2 separate regions of the Homo sapiens genome follow, and region 2 is linked to region 1. The links are contacts of gene promoters, found by promoter capture Hi-C in blood cells and fetal thymus (Javierre and others, 2016). All regions are on one chromosome and are shown on one strand. Each heading gives the region's core, a stretch centred on a gene start or on the middle of the fragment in contact. The rest is flanking DNA. Distances are from core to core; before and after follow the strand shown.

Region 1 (4,014 bases), core at 496-2,995:
AGATAGAGATGCTGGGTGGGTTTCTATGTTCTAGGGATAGAAGGCAAGGACTTGGTCACTGTAACACAGAACTGAGCTAGCCACTTGGGTGTCTGGTTGGCAAGTTGCCCTGGTAACTCCTTGTTTAAATTGTAAACTAGATAGACCTTCAAAGCTACAATTATGAAAGTGTACTAACAGCCACAGCCCAACAGAAATGAAAATGTACAAGCAAGTACATTTGCAATTTTTAATTAGCTTTTTTTTTTTTGAGATGAAGTCTCCCTCTGTCGCCAGGCTGGAGTGCAGTGGCGCGATCTCGACTCACAGCAACCTCCGTCTCCCGGGTTCAAGCGATTTTCCTGCCTCATCCTCCCGAGTAGCTGGGTCTACAGGCGCGCGCCACTATGCCCAGCTAATTTCTGTATTTTTAGCAGAGACGTTTCACCATGTTGGGCAGGATGGTCTCACCTCTTGATTTCGTGATCCGCTTGCCTCGGCCTCCCAAAGTGCTGGGATTACAAGCGTGAGCCACGGAGCCCGTCCAATTTTTAATTAACACTTTTTTAATACTTCTTTAATTATTGTTTAAACCAAGTTTTCCAGCCTCCTTCATTAGCCTGTTTGGTATTTGCATGCTTTGCTTGAATATTTTATCTCCAGCCCATTCCACACCGTTAGTCAACATTTTCATCTGACAGACGGAATCAAGGCCTAGGCCTCCCTTAAACAAAACATCCCTCCCAAAAGTACCACTTATAAAAATTGCTTGCCACAGACATTCTTGCTACAGACATTCTTTGCGGATCTTTGGCCAGTAACATGCATATACCCACACATAGTTTGCAAATAACAACTATTCAACGTGAAGTGCTACAAAAGTACGATGATAAAGTGCTCGCCGCTTGAAGAAAAGCACTAATAATTGTAACAAAGCCAAAACACACACACACACAACGAAAAAAAACGCACGGTAAGCCAAGAGCTCTTTAAAAATAAAAAATAATCATTCTCGGGAACAAATAAGGTAGGTACAAACTTGCCAGGTGACTCTGTTACGCTTAAAGGTTCTGGCTGTCAACAGTCCCCGGCGTGGTGGCGGCGGCACCCTCAGTCCCATCCGACTGAGGGCGTTGATGCGGGAGCCTCGGGGCTGCGGGACTGTTCGGGATAGGACGCGAGAGCACCTGGACAAAGGCCTGAGGCGGCTGTGCAGAACAGGGAGTGGCCCCGAGGCCCGGGTTTGTCTTCCCTTCCGGTCACCCCTCCCGGCCCAATGTCCCCAGGCCCCTGCTTACCCCGCTGGGCGCCGTATCCCTGCGCTCGGCGCCGCGCTCCGGAGCGAGTTGACAGCCGCGGCAGGCGAAGGCGCGGCAGAGAGGGGGGAGAAAGGTCTTCTTCCCCGCCCGCAAGACCACCATGGCCCCACGCCCCCTGGCTCCCGCGGCGCACGGCAGCATTGCGACGGCGCGAGGGGCCGCTTTACGGCAGGGTCGCGAAGCCCGAGGAAGCGCGGCGGCGCGGCCGACCGTGCGCTTTCCCAGCGGTGCGACGGGGTGAGGGGGCGGCGGGCGGCGCGGGCTGACCCGGGCGGCCGCTCCTTGGTCGCGGTCACTCCAGGCTGCCTCGCTGCGCCGCTGGCGGTGGGCGTGGCGCTGCCGGCGGCTAGGCGCGGACGCCGGAGGAGGTGTCCCCGGGTTTAGGGGTGTTCGGCCAGGGGCGGGGCTGCCGGGCCCGGGCGACTGCCGGAGCTGCGGAAGTCGTGGAAGCGTCGGCGACGCATCGCGCGATGGCGCGGGCGGGACAGGTGAGCGAAGCGCGGCTTGTAGCCTTTTCCCTCTCTCGGGGGGACGAGTGGGGCACCACCTCCGCGCGGGGCTCCCCGCTGGGCCACCCCTTCGCCAGCGCCCAGCCCCGTGCGGCCTGTCGGATCAGGCAGGGCAGAGTCGGTCTCGGCGCTGTCCCCGCCCCTGGGGTCGGAAGCGACCGGGGCTGGCCGGGCCTGGTCTCTGGTGTCTCCGGCCGGGCCTCGGTTCCCCTCCTCCCCCGGCTTCCCCCGGCCGGGCCGAGCTCCCCTCGCGCGCCCATTGTGAGGTCACGTCCTGCAGGCGCGCCCTGGCACCCGGGCCAAGACGCCCGGAGCGGCTGCTGCAGCCAGTAGCGGCCCCTTCACCGGCTGCCCCGCTCAGACCTAGTCGGGAGGGGTGCGAGGCATGCAGCTGGGGGCCCAGCTCCGGTGCCGCACCCCGTAAAGGGCTGATCTTCCACCTCGCCACCTCAGCCACGGGACGCCAAGACCGCATCCAATTCAGACTTCTTTTGGGTAAAGGGCCAAGAGGGAAGGGCGAGGCGGGGAGGAAGCAGCTCGGGCCGCCTTCCCTCCGTGGCCTCCAGGACATCCGCCGGGGATAGATTATGCGTTTCCATTGGTTACCCACCTTGAGCGAGCCGTTTGATAGAAACCAAGAGCTTGAAACGTGCATTAGGCCATTGTGGACTCCCAGTGGGAGGCGAGTGAATGAATTATTCATAGTTACCACGTTTTCGCGGGTTGTTTTTTTTTGAGAGAGTGGAGCATGTTGGGGGCTGAGGAGGTGTTGGGCCTCGAAAGCCCAAGGTGGTGCCCTTCAGCGCTGTCCCGGTCGCTCTTCTTTACCTGTGGGGTTTTAATCTCTTCAGGGAGACTTCTGTGAGGGAAGATGTGTGAGGAGCTAAAAGGGTGGGGAGGGGAAGTGCACAAAGGGATGGAGAGAAACGAAGAAGCGGGGACCTTGGGGATGTCTGAGAGCCACTGGTTTTTGTTCTGGTTCTTTCTTTTGCTTAGAGTTTCTGGAAACTAGGCATAGCTGTGTGGCGGGGCGGGGTACTGTTAGTGTTCGGAAGGTTACAAGAGCTACTGTTTCACCTTTCATAAAGGTGCCCTGCTGGTTCCAAATAGTTTGTGTCGCGTACGGTGACTCACACCTTAATCCCAGCACTTTGGGAGGCGGAGGCGGGCGGATCGTCTGAGACCAGCCTGGGCAATATAGTGAGACCTGTCTCTACTAAAAATAACATTAGCTGGGCGTAGTGGTGTACGACTGTAGACCCAGCTACTGGGGAGGCTGAGGTGGGATGACTGCTCAGAAGTATACCTTTTTAAAATGAGAATTTTAGAATGACTTAATATACCATTAGTGTTCTGCAGAAGCCTTGTGCTGTAGTAAGTTATCATTCTTGTCGTCTTTTAGTGCTTGTGAAACTGAACACAACAAAAGTATGGATATGGGAAACCAACATCCTTCTATTAGTAGGCTTCAGGAAATCCAAAAGGAAGTAAAAAGTGTAGAACAGCAAGTTATCGGCTTCAGTGGTCTGTCAGATGACAAGAATTACAAGAAACTGGAGAGGATTCTAACAAAACAGCTTTTTGAAATAGACTCTGTAGATACTGAAGGAAAAGGAGATATTCAGCAAGCTAGGAAGCGGGCAGCACAGGAGACAGAACGTCTTCTCAAAGAGTTGGAGCAGAATGCAAACCACCCACACCGGATTGAAATACAGAACATTTTTGAGGAAGCCCAGTCCCTCGTGAGAGAGAAAATTGTGCCATTTTATAATGGAGGCAACTGCGTAACTGATGAGTTTGAAGAAGGCATCCAAGATATCATTCTGAGGCTGACACATGTTAAAACTGGAGGAAAAATCTCCTTGCGGAAAGCAAGGTATCACACTTTAACCAAAATCTGTGCGGTGCAAGAGATAATCGAAGACTGCATGAAAAAGCAGCCTTCCCTGCCGCTTTCCGAGGATGCACATCCTTCCGTTGCCAAAATCAACTTCGTGATGTGTGAGGTGAACAAGGCCCGAGGGGTCCTGATTGCACTTCTGATGGGTGTGAACAACAATGAGACCTGCAGGCACTTATCCTGTGTGCTCTCGGGGCTGATCGCTGACCTGGATGCTCTAGATGTGTGCGGCCGGACAGAAATCAGAAATTATCGGAGGGAGGTAGTAGAAGATATCAACAAATTATTGAAATATCTGGATTTGGAA
Region 2 (4,014 bases), core at 942-3,441, 1.4 Mb after region 1:
ACCTTGCCTCCTTTTACCCTTCAGGGAATAGCGTCCCACTAAAAGAGAACACTATTGTAATGATACTTCCAGGCAAGAAACCTGTCTTTATGATGTAAAACAGGGCTACCAGATCCAGATAAGGTCTGCCATTAGGATGCTTCAGAAGTCATAACATTTCAAAGAAAAAAAAATTTTTAAGTAATTCCTACATTAATAATTGCTAGTTAGTGAATTTAGTTTTTAAGCACATCGTATTTTTATATAAATATAAATTTTTATAACTTAAAATTCTAAACTTAATTTCCTGAGACAAAATTGGTCCTTTCACTCTGATTATCAATGTCAAGACAGCAGCTTCTTATTTGACAGTCAGTATTTAACTATATTTTACATCTACTGAGTGTTTCAGGGCCTTAAAGTTCATTATGATTATTATATTATTAATTACAACGTGCACTGTAACATTCCCTTTTTAAAGAGGTGCAAATAGAAGTTAAATAACTTATCCAAGGTCACCCAAACAAGTCAGTGACAAAGTTGGGAGTAGGAGTAAAACTTCAGCCCCTAGACTGAAGACTACTTCGAGCTTTTGCAATTCCAAACGAGGAAAAAAAAAAGGTCAAGCGATTTACCCTTAATAACTTCCAACAGCATACCCTAAATACAGTGGTACACTTATTATCATAAAGACTAAGAAAAAAAGATTCACCCTGAATCAAAGAAACAACTTTGCTACATTTAGATACCACTGTCATTTCCCTAGCTCTTGTAACAAGCGAAAATCCTGTACTGGATCTGGCTATATTAAATCCTGAAGAATGTTCACTCTTCAATATGAACAATTTATTTTCATGCTAACATGCATTTACGACTTAATCTTTTATCACCTTGTCCTATTTGGAGGTGCTGTGGGATGCATTAATTTCCTCACTCTTCCATGACATCAAGTCAAAGACTACAATCTCAAAAATAAGCAATTCTCAGTGAAAACATAGTTACATAGCCAATGAAAGAAAAACTCTAATAAATGGCTGCTTTTAAAGAGATACTTTTAAAGGATGCTTACATGTTTCACAGAATTACCGGTAACTCGCCCGCCAAGAAGGATGGTCCCTTTAAAGCAGCTTTTAAAGCATATCACTCCCTGTTTGGGACACAGTCTGACTTGTTGGACAAGATTAATCTGGGCACTCTCACACAACCCCTCTGAACCAGCTTAGTTCACTGGAAACATCATTTCAACTGTAGTACTCAGCCCTTCGCATACTACAAGGGACAAGATGACTCTCCTTAACAATCTTTCAGAAGGTCCCCACGGCGGAGACAGTGACAGCCGTCCTCCCGCGGATGTTTTTGGAAATAGAAATGTTAACACCAGGAGAGGCTCCTAGGAAGTGTCAGTGCGGCAGCAGGTGGAGTAGCCCTGCGTGCCGAGCAGGTTCTTTCTGACCTAGTCTCAATGCTCCGCTTCCCGGCCCCGGTTCCGCCTTACAGAGATCTTGTTAAGCCGTCTTGCGTCCCTGTTCTCTAACCCAGGGCGAGACTTCCAACCCTCCAGGGAGGCGAGGCAATCGAAGCAGACAAGACGGCCACCTCACCTCTTCCGGGGACTCGCAGGCCCGCTCCCTGGCCATGTCAGAGCCTGATGGACCAGGCTGGAGGGGACGCAGCCGGCTCCCCCGGGAGCCTCCCAGCCAGAACCCCCGCGCCCCACGGTCCCTTTCCACTGCCCCCACCCCTTCGAAACGCCACCGCCACCACCCTCCTTACTCCTGAATCCCCTCTCCTCAGGAGTACCCCAGTGGAGTTACCGGCCCACTCAAAAGTAAGAGCGACGGCCACCCCTCTCGGTCACCCTGGCCCCACTGTCACCGCCCTGCTCCCGGCCTCTGCCTACGCCGCTGGCTGGCTCCGGTGACGCCCGGGTCGGTACCTTGCGGACCCCCTTGTAGATATAGAAGTACAGCTCCCGGCCCACATTGAAGCAGAGGCGGTCGCCGTTGCCAGACTGGTCGTTGAGGTTTACGAAGGAGACGCGGACAGGGTTGGATCCCTGCGAGTTGAAGGGCACCCGGTTGGGCCGGCTGTACTCCGAGTGCGGCAGCAGCTTGTACAGACCTTCCCGGGTGGTGAATTGGGTCTTAATCTCGTTCATCTCCTTCCCTCCTCCCTCCGTCGCCATCTTGGAAAGCAGCGTTCATCCTGCCCTAAGTGCCCGGATCACGCCCACCGCGCAGGCGCTGTTCCTGGTGCTCCCTCTTCCCCCACCCCCTGCCTCTTCCTTCTCGCCCCTCCCACCCGCGGGCCAGCCCTGCGAGGGCGGGCCAAAGGGAAGGGGTGGGCTTGTTTACGGCCCGACTGCGCAGGCGTGCTCACCTGGCGTGCTCCACCCGACTGGGCGTCCGCAGGCTCCTCCCCCGGGTGTGGCCTCCGGGCGGCATGGCTGCTTCCCAGGTGATGCCGGCTTCAGCTAGTGGGGTCTAGTTGACCGTTCCGCAGCCGCCAGGGCCAGCGGAAAGCCGGTCAGGGGGAACCGCGGCGGGGCTGGTGTCATGAGCCTGAGGTGAACTTGAGGGTGCCTCCTCAGCGGTCTCCCGCCCTGCCCTGAGGGGCGCCGGGACCCCAAAGAGCGGAGGAAGAGCGCCACCCCGACGGCCACCGCTTCGGAGCCAGCACGCGGGGTACCCTACGGGGAGCGCGGATGCCCCCGTGTTCGGGCGGGGACGGCTCCACCCCTCCTGGGCCCTCCCTTCGGGACAGGGACTGTCCCGCCCAGAGTGCTGAATACCCGCGCGACCGTCTGGATCCCCGCCCAGGAAGCCCCTCTGAAGCCTCCTCGCCGCCGTTTCTGAGAAGGTACCAAGGGACTCAAGATTTACGCTTCACTATGTTTTATTTCAGGCGGGGTAGGGGGAGAGAAGAATGTGGTACAGCATAGGTGTTCTCAAGCCAGATATCCTAATTCCTGCGTGTGATGAGCACTGGCGGCCTCCGCTTCTTAGCGGAGGTTTGTCCTCTCCAGCTGTTCAGAAACACGGGGCGGGGAAGCGCTTTGGGAACCGGGGACTGAATCTTTTTAGGATTCACTGATCTTGCTCAGTAGGTTACGAAGAGCTCTTAATAAAATTTAAGGTAATTGTTTTTTTTTCCAGAAGCCTCAGGTGGAGTCTGTGAGATTATTTACTAGTAGATCCATAGGGATAGTTGTATGCATGTAATGTACAGGGTCTAGATTTATAAGGACGGGCACACGTGTCAAAGTAAGATTCAACAATCACTATTTTATACCTGGGTTTCTTGGCATGTTACACCAGAATAAGAAAGCTTCTAAAGTGACAGAAACATTCTAATAGAATTCCAGGGAGGGGGGAAGCCAACATTTGTAACACCAAGAATGATCTATTCCTGGAAGTTCAGATTATATCTGGAGGGGCACAAAAGAAGTGAATGGAGAGAATTTCTAAAGTAGGAGGAGTGTAAATCATAAACATCTTCCGTATTAAAAAGCAAGTAGATACCAATAGAAACTGTGCCAATGATGTAGTAATACATTTGATAATAACATCTTTAGCCTTTGTAGTGTTGGAAAAAAAAAAGAAAAAAAAGCACTGAAGTACTTCTTAATTAATAGAGCCTGAAAAATACTTAAAATTTTTTCTTAGAATTGTTTTGATGTTATCCGACTTTCCCTAATCTTAAAACACCAGGGTATGTTCTGTCGTTACCATGGCTATATCCCAAACTCCATAACTGTGTTATTTTACATTGAAAACACGTATTTTACAATAATCAACTTGAAGGATAGTGGCATCTTGAATCATCTAAAAATAATTTATCTGTGTTTCCTAATTATCAAGAGGAAAAAAAGTATAATTTTTGGGGGGGGAAAAAAACCCAGCGAGCAAAAGTTAAAACAAAATTTTGTATTATTCTTCAATTAACCATAACATTGTATTTCCCATAATACCTATATAATTCAAGCATTCTATCAAGATTTTACCCTATATAAATTCAACATTTTATTATAATCAC

What was found. Contacts are between HindIII fragments. The CHiCAGO score rates a contact against its expected background, and 5 or more counts as called.
Region 2: the fragment with the promoter of WDR20 here is called in contact with the fragment with the promoter of BAG5 in region 1 in 1 of 17 cell types (neutrophils); the score reaches 5.6 in neutrophils.

The regions. Positions count from the first base shown.
Region 1 is chr14:103,560,388-103,564,401 of GRCh38, reverse strand. It overlaps BAG5 (BAG cochaperone 5), which reads left to right and starts at 1,745. Exons shown (of 2, transcript NM_001015048.3): 1 at 1,745-1,786; 2 at 3,210-4,014. The coding sequence starts at 3,238. COA8 (cytochrome c oxidase assembly factor 8) reads right to left here and starts at 1,442. Exons shown (of 5, transcript NM_001370595.2): 1 at 1,278-1,442. The coding sequence starts at 1,400. RefSeq lists a silencer at 1,488-2,137 and enhancers at 2,478-2,527, 2,627-3,140. The HindIII fragment of the contact is 16,544 bases long and covers 1-4,014 here.
Region 2 is chr14:102,138,074-102,142,087 of GRCh38, reverse strand. WDR20 (WD repeat domain 20) reads right to left here and starts at 2,191. Exons shown (of 3, transcript NM_144574.4): 1 at 1,916-2,191. The coding sequence starts at 2,164. It also overlaps a transcript of HSP90AA1 not described here. RefSeq lists enhancers at 1,936-2,095, 2,106-2,155 and a silencer at 2,756-2,951. The HindIII fragment of the contact is 7,184 bases long and covers 1-3,308 here.